5 separate regions of the Homo sapiens genome follow, and all the other regions are linked to region 3. The links are contacts of gene promoters, found by promoter capture Hi-C in blood cells and fetal thymus (Javierre and others, 2016). All regions are on one chromosome and are shown on one strand. Each heading gives the region's core, a stretch centred on a gene start or on the middle of the fragment in contact. The rest is flanking DNA. Distances are from core to core; before and after follow the strand shown.

What was found. Contacts are between HindIII fragments. The CHiCAGO score rates a contact against its expected background, and 5 or more counts as called.
Region 1: the fragment with the promoter of DLST here is called in contact with the fragment with the promoter of NPC2 in region 3 in 1 of 17 cell types (M2 macrophages); the score reaches 5.3 in M2 macrophages.
Region 2: a contact is called between the fragment with the promoter of RPS6KL1 here and the fragment with the promoter of NPC2 in region 3, in 2 of 17 cell types (fetal thymus and monocytes). The highest score is 5.8, in fetal thymus.
Region 4: the fragment with the promoter of PGF here is called in contact with the fragment with the promoter of NPC2 in region 3 in 1 of 17 cell types (monocytes); the score reaches 5.2 in monocytes.
Region 5: a contact is called between the fragment with the promoter of EIF2B2 here and the fragment with the promoter of NPC2 in region 3, in 3 of 17 cell types (fetal thymus, total CD8 T cells and naive CD4 T cells). The highest score is 7.5, in fetal thymus.

The regions. Positions count from the first base shown.
Region 1 is chr14:74,880,552-74,883,251 of GRCh38, forward strand. It overlaps DLST (dihydrolipoamide S-succinyltransferase), which reads left to right and starts at 1,365. Exons shown (of 15, transcript NM_001933.5): 1 at 1,365-1,465; 2 at 2,040-2,073. The coding sequence starts at 1,403. RefSeq lists silencers at 1,297-1,523, 1,380-1,709. The HindIII fragment of the contact is 10,796 bases long and covers 1-2,700 here.
Region 2 is chr14:74,921,827-74,924,567 of GRCh38, forward strand. It overlaps RPS6KL1 (ribosomal protein S6 kinase like 1), which reads right to left and starts at 1,434. Exons shown (of 12, transcript NM_031464.5): 1 at 1,354-1,434; 2 at 152-659. RefSeq lists enhancers at 187-958, 959-1,729 and silencers at 1,100-1,509, 1,600-1,659. The HindIII fragment of the contact is 5,428 bases long and covers 386-2,741 here.
Region 3 is chr14:74,491,864-74,494,563 of GRCh38, forward strand. It overlaps NPC2 (NPC intracellular cholesterol transporter 2), which reads right to left and starts at 1,442. Exons shown (of 5, transcript NM_006432.5): 1 at 1,330-1,442. The coding sequence starts at 1,411. It overlaps ISCA2 (iron-sulfur cluster assembly 2), which reads left to right and starts at 1,902. Exons shown (of 4, transcript NM_194279.4): 1 at 1,902-1,982; 2 at 2,187-2,289; 3 at 2,412-2,527. The coding sequence starts at 1,912. RefSeq lists silencers at 1,195-1,254, 1,425-1,704 and an enhancer at 1,905-1,984. The HindIII fragment of the contact is 4,485 bases long and covers 1-2,700 here.
Region 4 is chr14:74,954,226-74,956,925 of GRCh38, forward strand. PGF (placental growth factor) reads right to left here and starts at 1,372. Exons shown (of 7, transcript NM_002632.6): 1 at 943-1,372. The coding sequence starts at 1,017. RefSeq lists silencers at 1,169-1,238, 1,419-1,518. The HindIII fragment of the contact is 6,970 bases long and covers 1-2,700 here.
Region 5 is chr14:75,001,576-75,004,308 of GRCh38, forward strand. It overlaps EIF2B2 (eukaryotic translation initiation factor 2B subunit beta), which reads left to right and starts at 1,346. Exons shown (of 8, transcript NM_014239.4): 1 at 1,346-1,578; 2 at 1,700-1,820; 3 at 1,976-2,124. The coding sequence starts at 1,416. RefSeq lists enhancers at 893-982, 1,024-1,704. The HindIII fragment of the contact is 8,033 bases long and covers 615-2,733 here.

The DNA.
Region 1 (2,700 bases), core at 115-2,614, 390 kb after region 3:
GAACTGCTTAGGGAGCTTTTCAAATAATTCAGGTGAAAGCTACTGAGGAGTTAATTGTGGGTAGCAGCAGGGCAGAGCTGTTTTCTCTATTTCTAGTTAGGACTTTGGCCCATCCTTCCAGAATTTCAGTGGCAGTGCTTTCAGGGTTCAGGTGAGTGAAGGCACTGTAAAGGTCCTGATGGAATTTGAGGCCAGCCTGGGCAACATAGTGAGACCCCGTCTCAATTTATATTAAAACATAAATTAATTAGAAAAATAAAAAATAAAGGTCCTGAGGGCCAGGCAAAATGCCTCAGATAAAGAAATCATCATGAACGGCACCAAGTGGTTCATTCATTCATTCATACATTTATGTGTTACTAATTCAGCCAGAGGTTTAAAGCACATCTTTTTCATTAGGAAGGTGAGCCTTAAAGGTGAATACTCAAGGGGCCTGAATACTTAAGGAGGGGAAGGGGATGCTATATGCTTTCACTTCAAGTCAGCGGGAAGAATGGCACACTCAAAGTGGGGAGGTCAGCCTGGCATGGTGGCACCTGTAGTCCCAGCTACTCCAGAGGCTGAGGCAGAGGGATCGCTTGAGCCCAGAGTGTCGAGGCTCCAGTGAACTATGACCTTGTTTCTTAAAAAAACAGCTGGGAGTTTATATTCTAGGGATAGGGTGACAAACGAACAACTTCCAAAATGCACAAGATGTATGGGGAACAATTAGTTTGGCTGGAATTTGCGTTGGGGGGAGATCAGAAGCTGTTGAGAAATAAGGCTATAGTTGGTGAAGATATCCGACTCGTAAAAAGGCAATGGGATTTAGAAATTCCTGGGATTCTGTTTCTTTGACTCGGGGTTAGGAAGACAGGGAAGTAACAAGTGCCTTTTTTTTTTTTTTTAATAGTTAAGGGACCTGAGACTGGGGGTGGGGGGCAATGTCATCTGCCCCAGGCCACACAAGTGTAAGATCAGGCATGCATGTCTGCCAAGGTTTCAGTTCAATGTCCGTGCCCCTCTTTTGCTCTCTTCCCAAGGTACAGAGGCGGAACGGCGCGGTGCCCTCGGGTCCCAAGAGAGAAGGGCGCCAAGCTCAGAGCCAGTTCTGTGGAAGGGTAGGGGAAGGCCTGACCCCGGGGGCAATGTGGTGGCGGGACAGTCGTATACACCTTCAGGAGAACCACCTCAGGCTGACAGGCAGTGCGGAGGGCCCCAAGAGCGCCTTAGGGTTGCCTGCTCCAGAGAGCGGGACTCCTGCGCTGCAGCCGGGATACTGGGCGCCGCCGTGCGCCCACCCCCTGCCAGTGGTTCGCTCCGAACACCCCTCGTCGGGCGGCGGGTACTGCGGCCCGCCCCACTTCCGGTTGTTGTCCGGCCCTATATCCGGTGTCCGCCCGCCCTCGGCTCCTCCGCCGTGATGCTGTCCCGATCCCGCTGTGTGTCTCGGGCGTTCAGCCGCTCGCTCTCCGCCTTCCAGAAGGTACGGTCTGGCCGAGCCGGGGCCCCGACGGGTGAGGAGTCTGTTGGCGGGCAGAGAGGCGGCCTGGAAGGCAGGGGCGCGGCGCGCCGGCCGGGCCGGGCACCAAGGGCACTGGGACGCGGAGGCCGCGCGGGCTGGGCGGCCCGGGGCCGTGGTTGCCCTCGGGACCGTTTTGCGGAGCCCAGCGGCCCCCTGCCTTCTCCAGGCAGCCTGCGGGGAACGTTTCCTGCTGTACCCCACCCTCCGCGCGGGAGCTGGGGAGCCGCGCCCGTCCAGATACTTGACTCAGAGTTAGGGAGGAGGCGCGGCGGAGTCCTCCGGCGGGATTCGGCGCCCGTCTCGTCTTGCTCTGTTAAAATCAGTGGGTATTAATGAGTCCCGTTGGGAAGTTGAGATAGTTTGGCAGGCCCAGCGTGTTGATTGGGTCTGCCAGCACGGTGTGTTGCATTTACCTTCGGAGTTACGAGATTCACCTGTCACCACCACTGGGACAGCTTTGAGCGTGTACTTAAAAGAAAAAGCTGGGTTTTTTTTTCATCTTGGGTGACGTCGATAATGTCTTCTTTCTCAACAGGGGAACTGCCCTCTAGGGAGACGTTCCCTGCCTGGTAAGTTCTGCCCTTACCGTCACCTAAAATGCTCTCCTCCTGGGCAGAGCAGTATGTGAGGAACTCGGGGGTGCCTGTGTTTCTCATAATATTTAAAGACAGTTTGGTTCAGAGAGTAGTGAGACGCAATGCTACATAATCACGAGCTATCGCTTATTCATTTAGCTCGTAGTTGAGTTTCTACTGTGTTAGGCACTGTGCTAGACGCTAGGGATACAGGAGTGGATACAGAAGTGTACAGTTCTTGCCCTCGTGGAGCTCCTAGGCTAGTTGGATAGTGTCAGTTGCTAAACAAGCCAACAAAGGCAAATTTTTGTAACTGCTGAGAAGGAAACGAGGGTGGACAGAAGAGCCCTTTTTGAGGAGGTGACTTAAAAGTTATGGCCATGGCCGGGCGCGGTGGCTGACGCCTGTAATCCCAGCACTCTGGGAGGCTGAGGCGGGCGGATCACGAGGTCAGGAGATCGAGACCATCCTGGTTAACACGGTGAAACCCCATCTCTACTAAAAAATACAAAAAATTAGCCGGGCGTGGTGGCAGGCGCCTGTAGTCCCAGCTCCTCGGGAGGCTGAGGCACGAGAATGGCGTGAAGCCGGGAGGCGGAGCTTGCAGTGAGCCGAGTTCGC
Region 2 (2,741 bases), core at 184-2,683, 430 kb after region 3:
GATTGCAGTGGTGCGATCTCGGCTCACTGCAACCTCCACTTCCCAGGTTCAAGCAATTCTCCTGCCTCAGCATCCCAAGTAGCTGGGATTACAGGCACTTGCCTACCACACCTGGCTATGTTTTGTATTTGTAGTAGAGACGGGGTTTTACCATGTTGGCCAGGCTGGTCTTGAACTCCTGACCTCAAGTGATCCGTCTGCCTCGGCCTCCCACAGTGCTGGGATTATAGACGTGAGCCACCGCGCAGGCCTGGGGCTCTGTTTTCCTTTCCAGTCAAATTCAGTTCAGCAAACATTTCTGGAGCATCTGGTACTGTGTTGAGCTCTGGAGAGAGCTGAGGATATCTGTGATCCACAGCCACCTTCACAGGGCCTCCGTAGAGCAAGCTTGGTATCCAGTACGCATTCAGCACATGGAGGCCACACACGCTGGGCTCAAATGCTGTTCCTCATGCTGTTCCCTCCACCCTGCCTGTTGTCTCCTCCCTGCTCCTCCTGTGGGAATCTCATTTACCCTTTGGGGTTTAGCACTTCTCCGTGGACCGGATGGATTGCCCCTGCTGTGTTTTGTTCCCTTGGTCCTGAGGTCAGTGTGGTCAGCGAGTGAGGACCCCTCCTGGAGCCAGCAGAGAGCAGAGCACAGAGCTGGGCTGTAAGAACTGTTGGCAGACGGAATGACTGAGTGGCAGACTCGGTGCCACGTTGGATGGGGGGTAGAAGAGGGCAGGGTGACCCAGCCCCAGGGAGGGTCGCTCTGTCCTCCTGGCTTTACTTTTGAGAAGGTCATGTGGCCTCCAAGGACCTGACAGCAGCTTCTTCCTGAGCAATGTGTGACCCAGGCGGCCAAAGGGATGACAGCCGTGGCTGCGGGAAGGGAAGGGGCTCAGAGAGAGGCCCACAAAGCTACCCCGCCTTTGCTCTCCCAGGTCCCACTGGGAATGGGCAGGACCCGGAACTTCCAACCCCAGGTCATTTGGAGAGAAAGAGGAGAGAGCAGGATGGGCGGTGGGGCGGGGAGGGAGACCCACAGCCTCAGCCGGCGGGGAGCTGAATCCCGGCCAGGATGCGGCCAGGAGGCAGAGGGAGGCCGCACCATCCCTGCTCGGCCAAGCCCAGGGGAACTTGAGGCTCTGAGGCCTTGCTCTGGGGGGTGCCCGGGTAGGACTGGCTTCAGGGTCCACCCCGCCGGGCAGGGTCCTGCCGGGCAGAGCCGCCGGCCCCGCCTGGACACAGAAAGCGGCGCGTGCAACCCACGGGGCCCCAGCCGCAAGGTGCACGGTCCCAGGGTGGAGGGACGGCCGAGGGGGCCCCTCGCCTGGGAGGGTGGAGAAGGGACCGGACAAAACACCGTACCTGCCCGAGCTGGGAGCCGGGTCCGCGGGCCAGGCCTCCCCCTCACGTACCGGCCCTTCACGCCAGAGCGCGCCGCGGGCCGCTGCTTTCCGGCATCCAGCGTGCGGGGCCAGCCGGTGCAGCGCGGCCATTGGCTGCGGATGAGCTCATACTTGAGCCTTAGAATAAACCACCAATCACCGCCCGGCTCGGCTCCTGCCGGCCTTAAAGCCGCAAGGTCTGCACGGCTGGGCTGTGAGGGGCGGGGGGCGGTTTAGAGAGGGGAGGGTGGGATGGGATGTGGGGTGGGTGGGGAGAGCAGGTCTAGAATCATCCAGGGATGCGGAAGGGGCTGCTTCAGAAATCTAGACGTGCCACTTCTAGGACTTTTCTCATTCATTGCTTCATTCATTTATTCAACGATTCAATGCTATGTATTGAGAGTCTCCCATGCATGAGGAGCTGGATGTTGAGATACAGCCGTGAACTAGACAGCGCTGTTTACATCCGCATGGGGCTTACAGTCTAGTGAGGGCTACCGAGAGTAAAGAACCCAGCAATAGAAGGCTTTTGATATCAGAACCGAGCTTAAAATTCAAGACATAGGCCGGGTGCGGTGGCTCATGCCTGTAATCTCTGCATTATGGAAGGCTGAGGCGGGAGGATCATTTGAACCTAGGAGTTCAAGACCAGCCTGGGCAACATAGGTAGACCCAATCTCTATAAAAATTACAAAATTTAGCTGGGCATGGTGGCGTGTGCCTGTGGTCCCAGTTACTCAGGAGGCTGAGGTGGGAGGATGGAGTGAGCTCGGGAGGTTGAGGCTGCAGCGAGCCGAGATCGTGTCACTGCACTCCAGCCTGGGTGATGGGGCAACAGATCACAGGCAACCCTGTGACACAGATCTCACCTGCAGGTTCAGTGCTGACTGGCTTCACACTGTCCCCCGGCTGCACTTGCTCTACCTTAGACACCCTTTCATACTTTCTCCCTCTGACTCCCACCCGTCCCCCTATCCTCACTCTCAGCCAGCACTGTTGCTTCATCCTTCCCTTGACAGCAGTGGCGCACAGACTCCCACAGGCTTGCTCTTGGCCCGCGGGCGGGGCTGTGCCCACACTCTGCTTCCAACCTTTTTCCACAGGTGACTGTCTGTGCCCCATCGAAGGCCACCCTTCCAGGTGGGCATCAGTCCCGTGCCATCACCTACTCAGCGACACCACTCCAGCGATTCTCCCGTCTCTCCCACTAGATAATTCCCACCTGATACAAACATAATGCTTGTTTCTCCCCTCTTAAAAGCAAAACAAGAAAACAAACCAAAATACACTCTAGGCCTCACTTCTTTACCTACCACCCTAGGTTTGCAGTACGGCTAATTTCCTTTTTTTTTTTTTTTTTTTTTTTTT
Region 3 (2,700 bases), core at 192-2,691:
AAAACCCCTTCTTGCCTGGGGACCGGTCTGCCTTTGTAGGACTAACAAATTAGCTACGAGTTTAGGGGCCACGCCGCCTCTGGCTGTAAGAGTCTGAACCTCCCCAAATTGCTCCTGGTAATGATATCACTATTGTAAAACCTAAGGTCAGTGCTTGAGATATTTTGCAGATCCTGCATTCCGATGCAGCAAATGACACCACCCAGAGGTCAGCAAGAAGAACTCACTTCGACTCTCCTATGATTTTATCTTCAACCTGACCAATCAGCACTCCCCACTTTCCAAGCCCATACCCGCCAAATTATCCTTAAAAACTCTGATCCCCGAATGCTCGGGGAGACTGATCTGAGTAACAATAAAACTCCGGCCTCCCCCACAGCCGGCTCTGCGTGAATTACTCTTTTCGCCACTGCAAATCCCATCTTGATAAATCCGCTCTGTCTAGGCAATGCGCAAGGTGAACCCCTTGGGCGGTTACACTTACTCTGGCTCCCCATTCTGCTGCGTGACTTTAGGTAGGCTACCCAACATCCCTGGAATTCAATGATTGATTATACGATCTCCGTGCTTCCTTTCCACTCATAGATCTTACAAAGTCAGTTTCATGCCTCTTTCATTGACAGTTCTATCTCTCTATCTCCACCTCTGAACAACATTGCTCGAGTTTCTGTTCCGACAATTCTATAGACTCGACTCAATGAAGGCACTCAGAATTTCTACCACCTGTTGTATTTTCCAACAAAGATTCCAACCACAGCGGCGAGAGGGAGTTATGTATCACAAGCTGTGATTAGAGACACAATGAGATTTATACAAGGAAAAACTGATTAAGAATCACAAGATTCCAAAGCCCAAAGGAAGTCCTATTTGTAACAATAAATGATGAAAAAGGGGAATTGACTTTTGACTTGTCAGCAAAAACGAAATTAAAAGAAAAGCAAAAGGAGTTGGAAGGGGGAGGCGGGATTCCAAGATACAAAGCATAAATAAAAAGAAGTTCTGTGCTCCACCCCTCCACCAGAGCTGGATACAGCCCTTCTGTTGTCCGCCCTACAAACTTTAGGAAACTTCAGCAAAAGGCCCACCTCCTGGAGTTCCCAGGAACCCCAAAACACGCGTTCTAAGGAAAGAAACAAAGTTGTGCGCGGTCGGGTTTCATGGAGGCCGGCGCCTTCTCCCCCGACCCAGCCCATTCCAGTTAGGTAGGGTCCAAGGCTCAGCCTGGCCGCCCGAGGGATCCGCCCAGCCCAGCCCCAGGGGTCTCAGCGCGGGGGTCCGGCGGGGCCTTCCACAGAGGGCGCGGGAACCTTGGGCGGGCCTGGGGCTCACCGCAGTCCTTGAACTGCACCGGTTCGGCCTGGGCAGCGGTGCTGAGCGCCAGGAGCAGGAATGTAGCTGCCAGGAAACGCATCGCGGATAACGAAGTTCCAAGCTCGGGAAAGAAGCAGCGGCCGCCCGCGGTCACAAGACAAACCTGTCGGGGCGGGCCCGGGGAGGAGCCCAGTCAGGCGACCTGTCACCAGTAACCACAGCTGAGGCCCGCCCGCGCCCCGCCCCCGGCTCCGGAAAGCCAGCTCCAGCCCTCTCAGGCCCAGAAGCCTGCAGTCTCCGCCCATGCCATCCCCTCAGAGGCCTGACCCGCCCGGACCCACCTCCGCCCCGCCCCGCCTCACTCCTCCCCGCCCCGTTCCTTCCCTTTAGAGCACCTCTCCGGCTTCCTGGGTGCGTCCCCGCCGCTGCCGTCTGGAGCATTCCTAGCCAATCAGACACCTTCTCCTCCCGCACTACCCAATAGGCATGTTGGGGGGGCGGGGCCTCCGTGAAGTCCCGGCCTCCTGTTCGTTCTCTCCGCCTCCCGAGGCCCCGGGTGAGAAACGGGGGAGACGCGAGGGGCGGAGCTTGTGGAGGAAGATGGCTGCCGCCTGGGGGTCGTCCCTAACGGCCGCGACGCAGAGAGCGGTCACTCCCTGGCCGAGGGGCAGGTACCAAGACTAGAAAGGCACCTGGAAAGGGTGTTTGGTTCTGCGCCTCTAGGACAAATGGGAAACTAAGGCCTGTGGGGGATGCGAGGGTTTGGTGGGAGGCCGTCCAGGTGGGGGTCGCCAGGTTTAGCGTGAGGCGCTCCAGGTCGAGGGTTGCAAGGTGCCCCTTCTGCTCCCGGGCTCACCCTCCTCCCTTGCGCGCAGGCTCCTCACGGCCTCCCTGGGACCCCAGGCGCGTCGGGAGGCGTCGTCCTCCAGCCCCGAGGCCGGCGAAGGGCAGATCCGCCTCACAGACAGTTGCGTCCAGGTAGGAGGCCGGACGCGGAGCGGCGGTACCCAGGCGATTGGCGGGAGCAGCGGGAACTGCTCTTCACTCAGCCCTTTAACTCCCGTTTCCCGCTATTCTTGATCCCCCTTCCTGCATTTCAGAGGCTTTTGGAAATCACCGAAGGGTCAGAATTCCTCAGGCTGCAAGTGGAGGGAGGTGGATGCTCCGGATTCCAATACAAATTTTCACTGGATACAGTTATCAACCCCGACGACAGGCAAGGAGGAAGGGGTGGGCCCCCAAAGGAGGTACAGGAGGGACAAAAGTGTCTCCAGTTTAAGGTGCACTTTTATTCCAAATTTAAAGGGTTTACCTGGGATGGTTAACACCGCCCGTCTCACAGTGAGGATGCAGTAAAGGTTTGTTGTTCTGAATCAAAGTAACTAAGTT
Region 4 (2,700 bases), core at 122-2,621, 460 kb after region 3:
CCAATCCTGCGGGTCTGCCTTCTACCCAGCCCCCAGGCCAACCCTGCTGGGCCCTGCACAGCCCGCCTTGGCTGGGTGCCAGAGCCCAGGGGGAGGTGATCAGCTGGTGGGAGCTGAGGGGCTGGAGCGGGTGGCGCCATGAGCTGGTGCAGCCGGTAACGTTACACCTCTGGCCAGCCCTGCAGCAGGCAGGCGGGTGGCTGGGCTGCTCGGACTCCTCAGGGACTGCCCAGCCCACTCCTACTCTTGGGCTGGGGCTGGGGACTCCCAGGGCAGTGGGACAACGCAGTGGGAAGGCAGTTCATTGGCTTTGTCAGGATTTCACTGCCCAAGCTGGCTCCCAGCCAGACTCACCCGGCTCCTGGGAAAAGGGCCCTGCTCACTTCCCCAGGCCCTGCACTCAGGACCTCCGGCCACCCACCCAGGAGAAAAGGCACAGCGAGACCCCTTGTCTCGTCCCCAGCCCACCCAGGAGCCCACGGCTCAGTCCTGAGCCCTGGTGGGGGCAGGGCCAGCCTCCCCACCAACAGCTTCTTCAGCTGGCTCCTCCGCCACCCCCACCAGGCCAGGTCAGAGGTCCTGGGGACGCCTGGTTGGCCATGGGGCCTCGACCCTGACCACAAGGCCAGGGACCCGCCTGGGATTAGTGGACAGATGCTTTTAGCAAAGCCACCAGGGCTCCAGGGGCCAGACAGGAAACCTCCCTCCCTCCCTCCCTCCCTGTGGCTTCCCTGCCCCCACCAAGACAGCCCCCAGGACCTGGGGGACAGCCAGCCTGAGGTCTCTTCCCAAACGAAAGAAGTCCAGCCTGGCCTTTAGGAAGTGTGTGGACATCCTTGGAGTTGCTGCTCCCTGGAGTGGGTCTGTGATTTCAGAGTCCCATGCTTCCAGTGCTGGGATGGGGAGGTCTGGGGAGCCAGGCTAGGTGGGGGTAGCTCTTACCTGGGGGGGCACAGCAGGCAGCGCCAGCCCGGCCAGGAGCTGCAGGAAGCAAGGGAACAGCCTCATGACCGGCATCTTCTCAGACGTCCCGAGCCAGGGGGCTCCGAGGGAAAACCACCATGCTCATCCCCCGGGGAGCCCCTGGCACAGGAGGAGAAGAGCTGAGTGGGGGGCTGGACGCCTCCCTCACTGCTGCCCCGAGGCCCCGGCCGGTGGTTCGAGCATCTTCTGGAAGCCTTGCGGAGTCAGGAGCCCGTAGGTAAGGCTGTGGCTGGGGAACCCGACGGGGAGCGGCCCGGCGGGGCGGGGCGCCGAGGGGCAGGCGGGTCCCGGGGATGGTCCGTCGGGCGCCCAGTGCCACTCCAGGTCCTCCCGTAGCTGGGCGGCCGTCCGTCGATGCAGTTTCCTCCGCAGACAGCAGCTCCCTTCTGAGACTGCAGCCGGTCCGCGCCTGGGTTTCAGGGACTGAGCCGGGGCGGGGCTCCGGGCCGGCCCCGCCCACCGCAGACGAGGTTCCCGAGCCGAGTTCCCGGAGCGCCCGGTCAGCCCGCAGCGCCCGGCCAGCCCGCAGCGCCGGAGCCCGCAGTGCGTGCGAGGGGCTCTCGGCAGGTCCAGACGCCTCGCCGAGCCCAGCCCGCAGCTCCCCGGGCCGCGCCGCGCCCGCCCACAGGGCCCACAGCCCTGCTTCGGCTCTCAGGGCGGTCACCTGGGATGGGGGCATCCAGGAGTCCAGCGTCAGCCGTCAAGGCTCATGATCTAACCGCCTCTGCAGGAAGGGCCGTCCGGGATGCCTGGGAAGGCAGCCATGCCCACACCCCTAGGGGGCCAAGGGATTCCTAGCCAGGTTATATAGATGAAGAAACCGAGGCTCCGAGAGCACCCCTGCCTGCATATGTCGAATGGACATAGGCATTCTTGGAAAGTGTGTGTGTGTTGTGTGTGTGCGCGCATCTGTGTGTCCGAGGAACTGGCAGAGACAAAACCCAAGCCTACGTGACTCCAGAACTCTAACCCGACCTACCACCCTCCTAGCCAGGCACGGACACAGTGGGCCTCCCACAGGAAACCTCTCAGGGCACCTGGCTGGAGGATCAGGCCTGTTGCCTCCTTGGGAAGCAGTCTTCCCAGGCCCTCCCTGCGGGGCAGCCCCCTGTGGTAGAGAGTGGTCTCACTCAGGCATCTCCTCCTGGTCCCTGGCCGAGGAGGAACTGTACGCTGCGCGGGGGTCTGTGTGCATCTGCGCGTGTGCATGGGCATTTGCGGGTCTGTGAATATCCATGAGCGGTGCATCTGAGCCTCTGTGTGGTCTGAGTACGTGTGACTACTGTACCTCCAAATACGCCTCTGTGTGGGGGTCAGGTCTCTCTGTATCTCTGTATGCTTGTGTGATCTGTTCGTGTCCGCTGTGTATCTGGGTGTGTTTGGAAGTGTCTGAATGTGTATCTTTCGGTGGGACTGTGAGTCTGCACGCCTGCCTGTCTCTGCGTGTGTGTGTCTGTCTCTGTGGGTGAAGACTGTGCCTCTCTCTCTGCGTTTGTGTGTGCCCTCCCTTGGTTCTGGATCTTTCTTTACCACCACTCCTCTCACTGCCTTCTGTGTCCAGCTCCCAGGCTGCAGGAACCTGGCAGGACTGGGAGTCACGAGTTGGCTGGGCCTGGGGCTGGTGGGTGGCTGTGGGGGAGGAGCGAGGCCTGGGAAGTGGCCCCTACAGCTCACATTCCAGCCAAGAGCAGGGAGGCCAGGGCAGCCCCAGCTCTC
Region 5 (2,733 bases), core at 96-2,595, 510 kb after region 3:
ATCGAGTTCAGGAAGTTCCCTTTTGTTCTAGTTTTCTGAGAGTTTGTACCATGAATATTGAATTTTGTCAAATGTTTCTTCCTGCATCAATTGACATGATCATGTGGTTTTACTTCTCAGATTGTTAATATGGCATATTACATTGATTTTTAAGTGTTTAATCAGCTTTGCATTCCAGGTTTATGTTTCACTTTGTAATTACATATTATTCTTTTTTTATGTATTGCAGGATTTGATGTGCTAATAATTTGTTGCAATTTTTGCTTCTATGTTCATGAGAGATATTAATCTGTAATTTTCTTTTCTTTGTACTACCTTTGGCTAACTTTGGTATTGACATAATCTTTTTGGAGGGCAATTTGTTAATTGTAACAAAAGTCTAAAATGTGCTCGCCTATGGATTCCACTTTGAAGAATTTATCTTAAGGAAATAGAGATTTCTATTACACACATACTTTGGGTTCAGGTAGACCTGGATTTAAGTATGAACCCAATCCTTTATTAACTGCTTAAATTCTGTGGGTCTGTTTCCCAATCTGTAAAATGGGGATAAGAGGACCTATTTCAGACCTTATTAACTGAGACAATTCACACACAGTGCCCAAGAACCAGTAAGCTTTAAGTAAATGGTAACTCTTGGTATTATGTTATACTCTCTGGCCTCTCTGTAGGAGGACAATTCTGTCCAAATCAGAGGATGTCATCTTTGCTTCTGTATTGGCTCCCACTTTGAATCTCCTTAATCTTCCTCATCTCTAATTTCGCCGTCTTCTGTTAGACGTGTTAGGCCTTGAGAATACAAAAGCAACAAAAGATATCGTCCTTGTTTTCAGAGACATGAACCTCCTAGACACAGGCGCAAACGGTACCAAGCAATGTAACAGAACAAAAGTGAGACGTCTGCCCAAGGGGCAGCCGACCCTGGACATGCATTCAGAGCGTCAGTGTCAGCTGACACTCGGGAGTGACAGCTCGGGCAGTCACCGAGCTGGGAAGACAGGAGGGAGTGCCGCAACTTCTTCAGTGTAGCCTTAAGTCGCGGTGAGGGGCGCGTAGAGACTTGCTGCTCCCATAGCAACGGGACCAGCCACCCTCTACAGGCCTGACGGGTTACTTCCGTTCACCGTCGGCTGAGCCAAGAAAGGCCGCTTCCGATCCTCCAGCCCCCGAGGCGCGGGGGCGCGCGGACGCCCGGTTATAACTGAACAACCCGAGCCCCACGTCTCTGATTGGCTCAGGCAGAGGAAGGGGGCGGGAGATCGGCAACGAAGGGCGTAGCCGGCTTCCACTCAAACTTGAGGTTTCCCCCCATCCCCTCACAGCGGAAGCCGACCTCGCCCGCCCCGGAAGTGCAAACTGTGTGGTCTGGCAGGTGTGGATTCCGCCGGTGAAGGCTGAAGGCAGCTACCTTAAAGATGCCGGGATCCGCAGCGAAGGGCTCGGAGTTGTCAGAGAGGATCGAGAGCTTCGTGGAGACCCTGAAGCGGGGTGGTGGGCCGCGCAGCTCCGAGGAAATGGCTCGGGAGACCCTAGGGTTGCTGCGCCAGATCATCACGGACCACCGCTGGAGCAACGCGGGTGAGGCCGGCCTGCCTCCGCCGGCGAACCTGGCCCCTGTCTGTTCCCGATCCCAGGGCTGAAAATTTCCCAGGCCTCACTTCGCGTTGGCTCCTCTTATCCTCTCTCTTTTGGACTGTAGGGGAGCTGATGGAGCTGATCCGCAGAGAGGGCAGGAGGATGACGGCCGCTCAGCCCTCCGAGACCACCGTGGGCAACATGGTGCGGAGAGTGCTCAAGATTATCCGGGAGGAGTATGGCAGGTCAGGCTCACGTCCTGGGCTCCTGGTTGGATCCAGTGACACTTTTTGCACGGGCCCCTCTACCTGCTCGGAGACTTTATTGGAGCTGAACAGCCCTTGTTACCTGCCTGACCACTCCTCCCCACCTCTCTCTTTGGGTCTTGTTGCCTCTATAGACTCCATGGACGCAGCGACGAGAGTGATCAGCAGGAGTCCCTGCACAAACTGTTGACATCCGGAGGCCTAAACGAGGATTTCAGCTTCCATTATGCCCAACTCCAGTCCAACATCATTGAGGCGATTAATGAGCTGCTAGTGGAGCTGGGTAAGAGGCCTGATCGCTGGGAAAATGGGACTGGTCACAGGCACATAAGGGAACAGAAGCCTCTGAAGGTTGTTCATTAGCAGAGATGGGAGATTAGCTGTCTTCTGGTTCTCAGAGGTTTGTCCTCCTTCCTGATTAGGAAATGTTGCAACAGGTGACAGGACCAAAGTAATCCTCTCTACTTTTCCTTACAGACCAACCCTTGATAGACTACAGATCTGTGGAGTGGAACAGACTCTATTAGGACAGAGTTTTATTTTCATTGTAAAGAAACAAAATGAACTCCCTAGAGAGCCAAGGTCGATAGACCTCCTTCACTATCTGAATTTTTATACACACGTACACGTATACCATTTCTATCCCCCTTGTCATTGCGGTCCAAGTGACTTGCAGATATTCATTGTAATCAGAGGATGAAGAAGCTGCTTCCAAATTGCTCCCCCATTTTTTCTTCTCTGGCCAGTCTCTCTCATGTAGAAGTGTTGTGGCCACCTTTTGGAGGAAGACTTCTTTTAGGCCGAAGCTCTCTTTACCCTATTCTCAGCACTTTAGGATTTCCCAGATTGCCATTCCTTGGCTGAATCTACTGTCTTCAAAATCAGTTGTAAG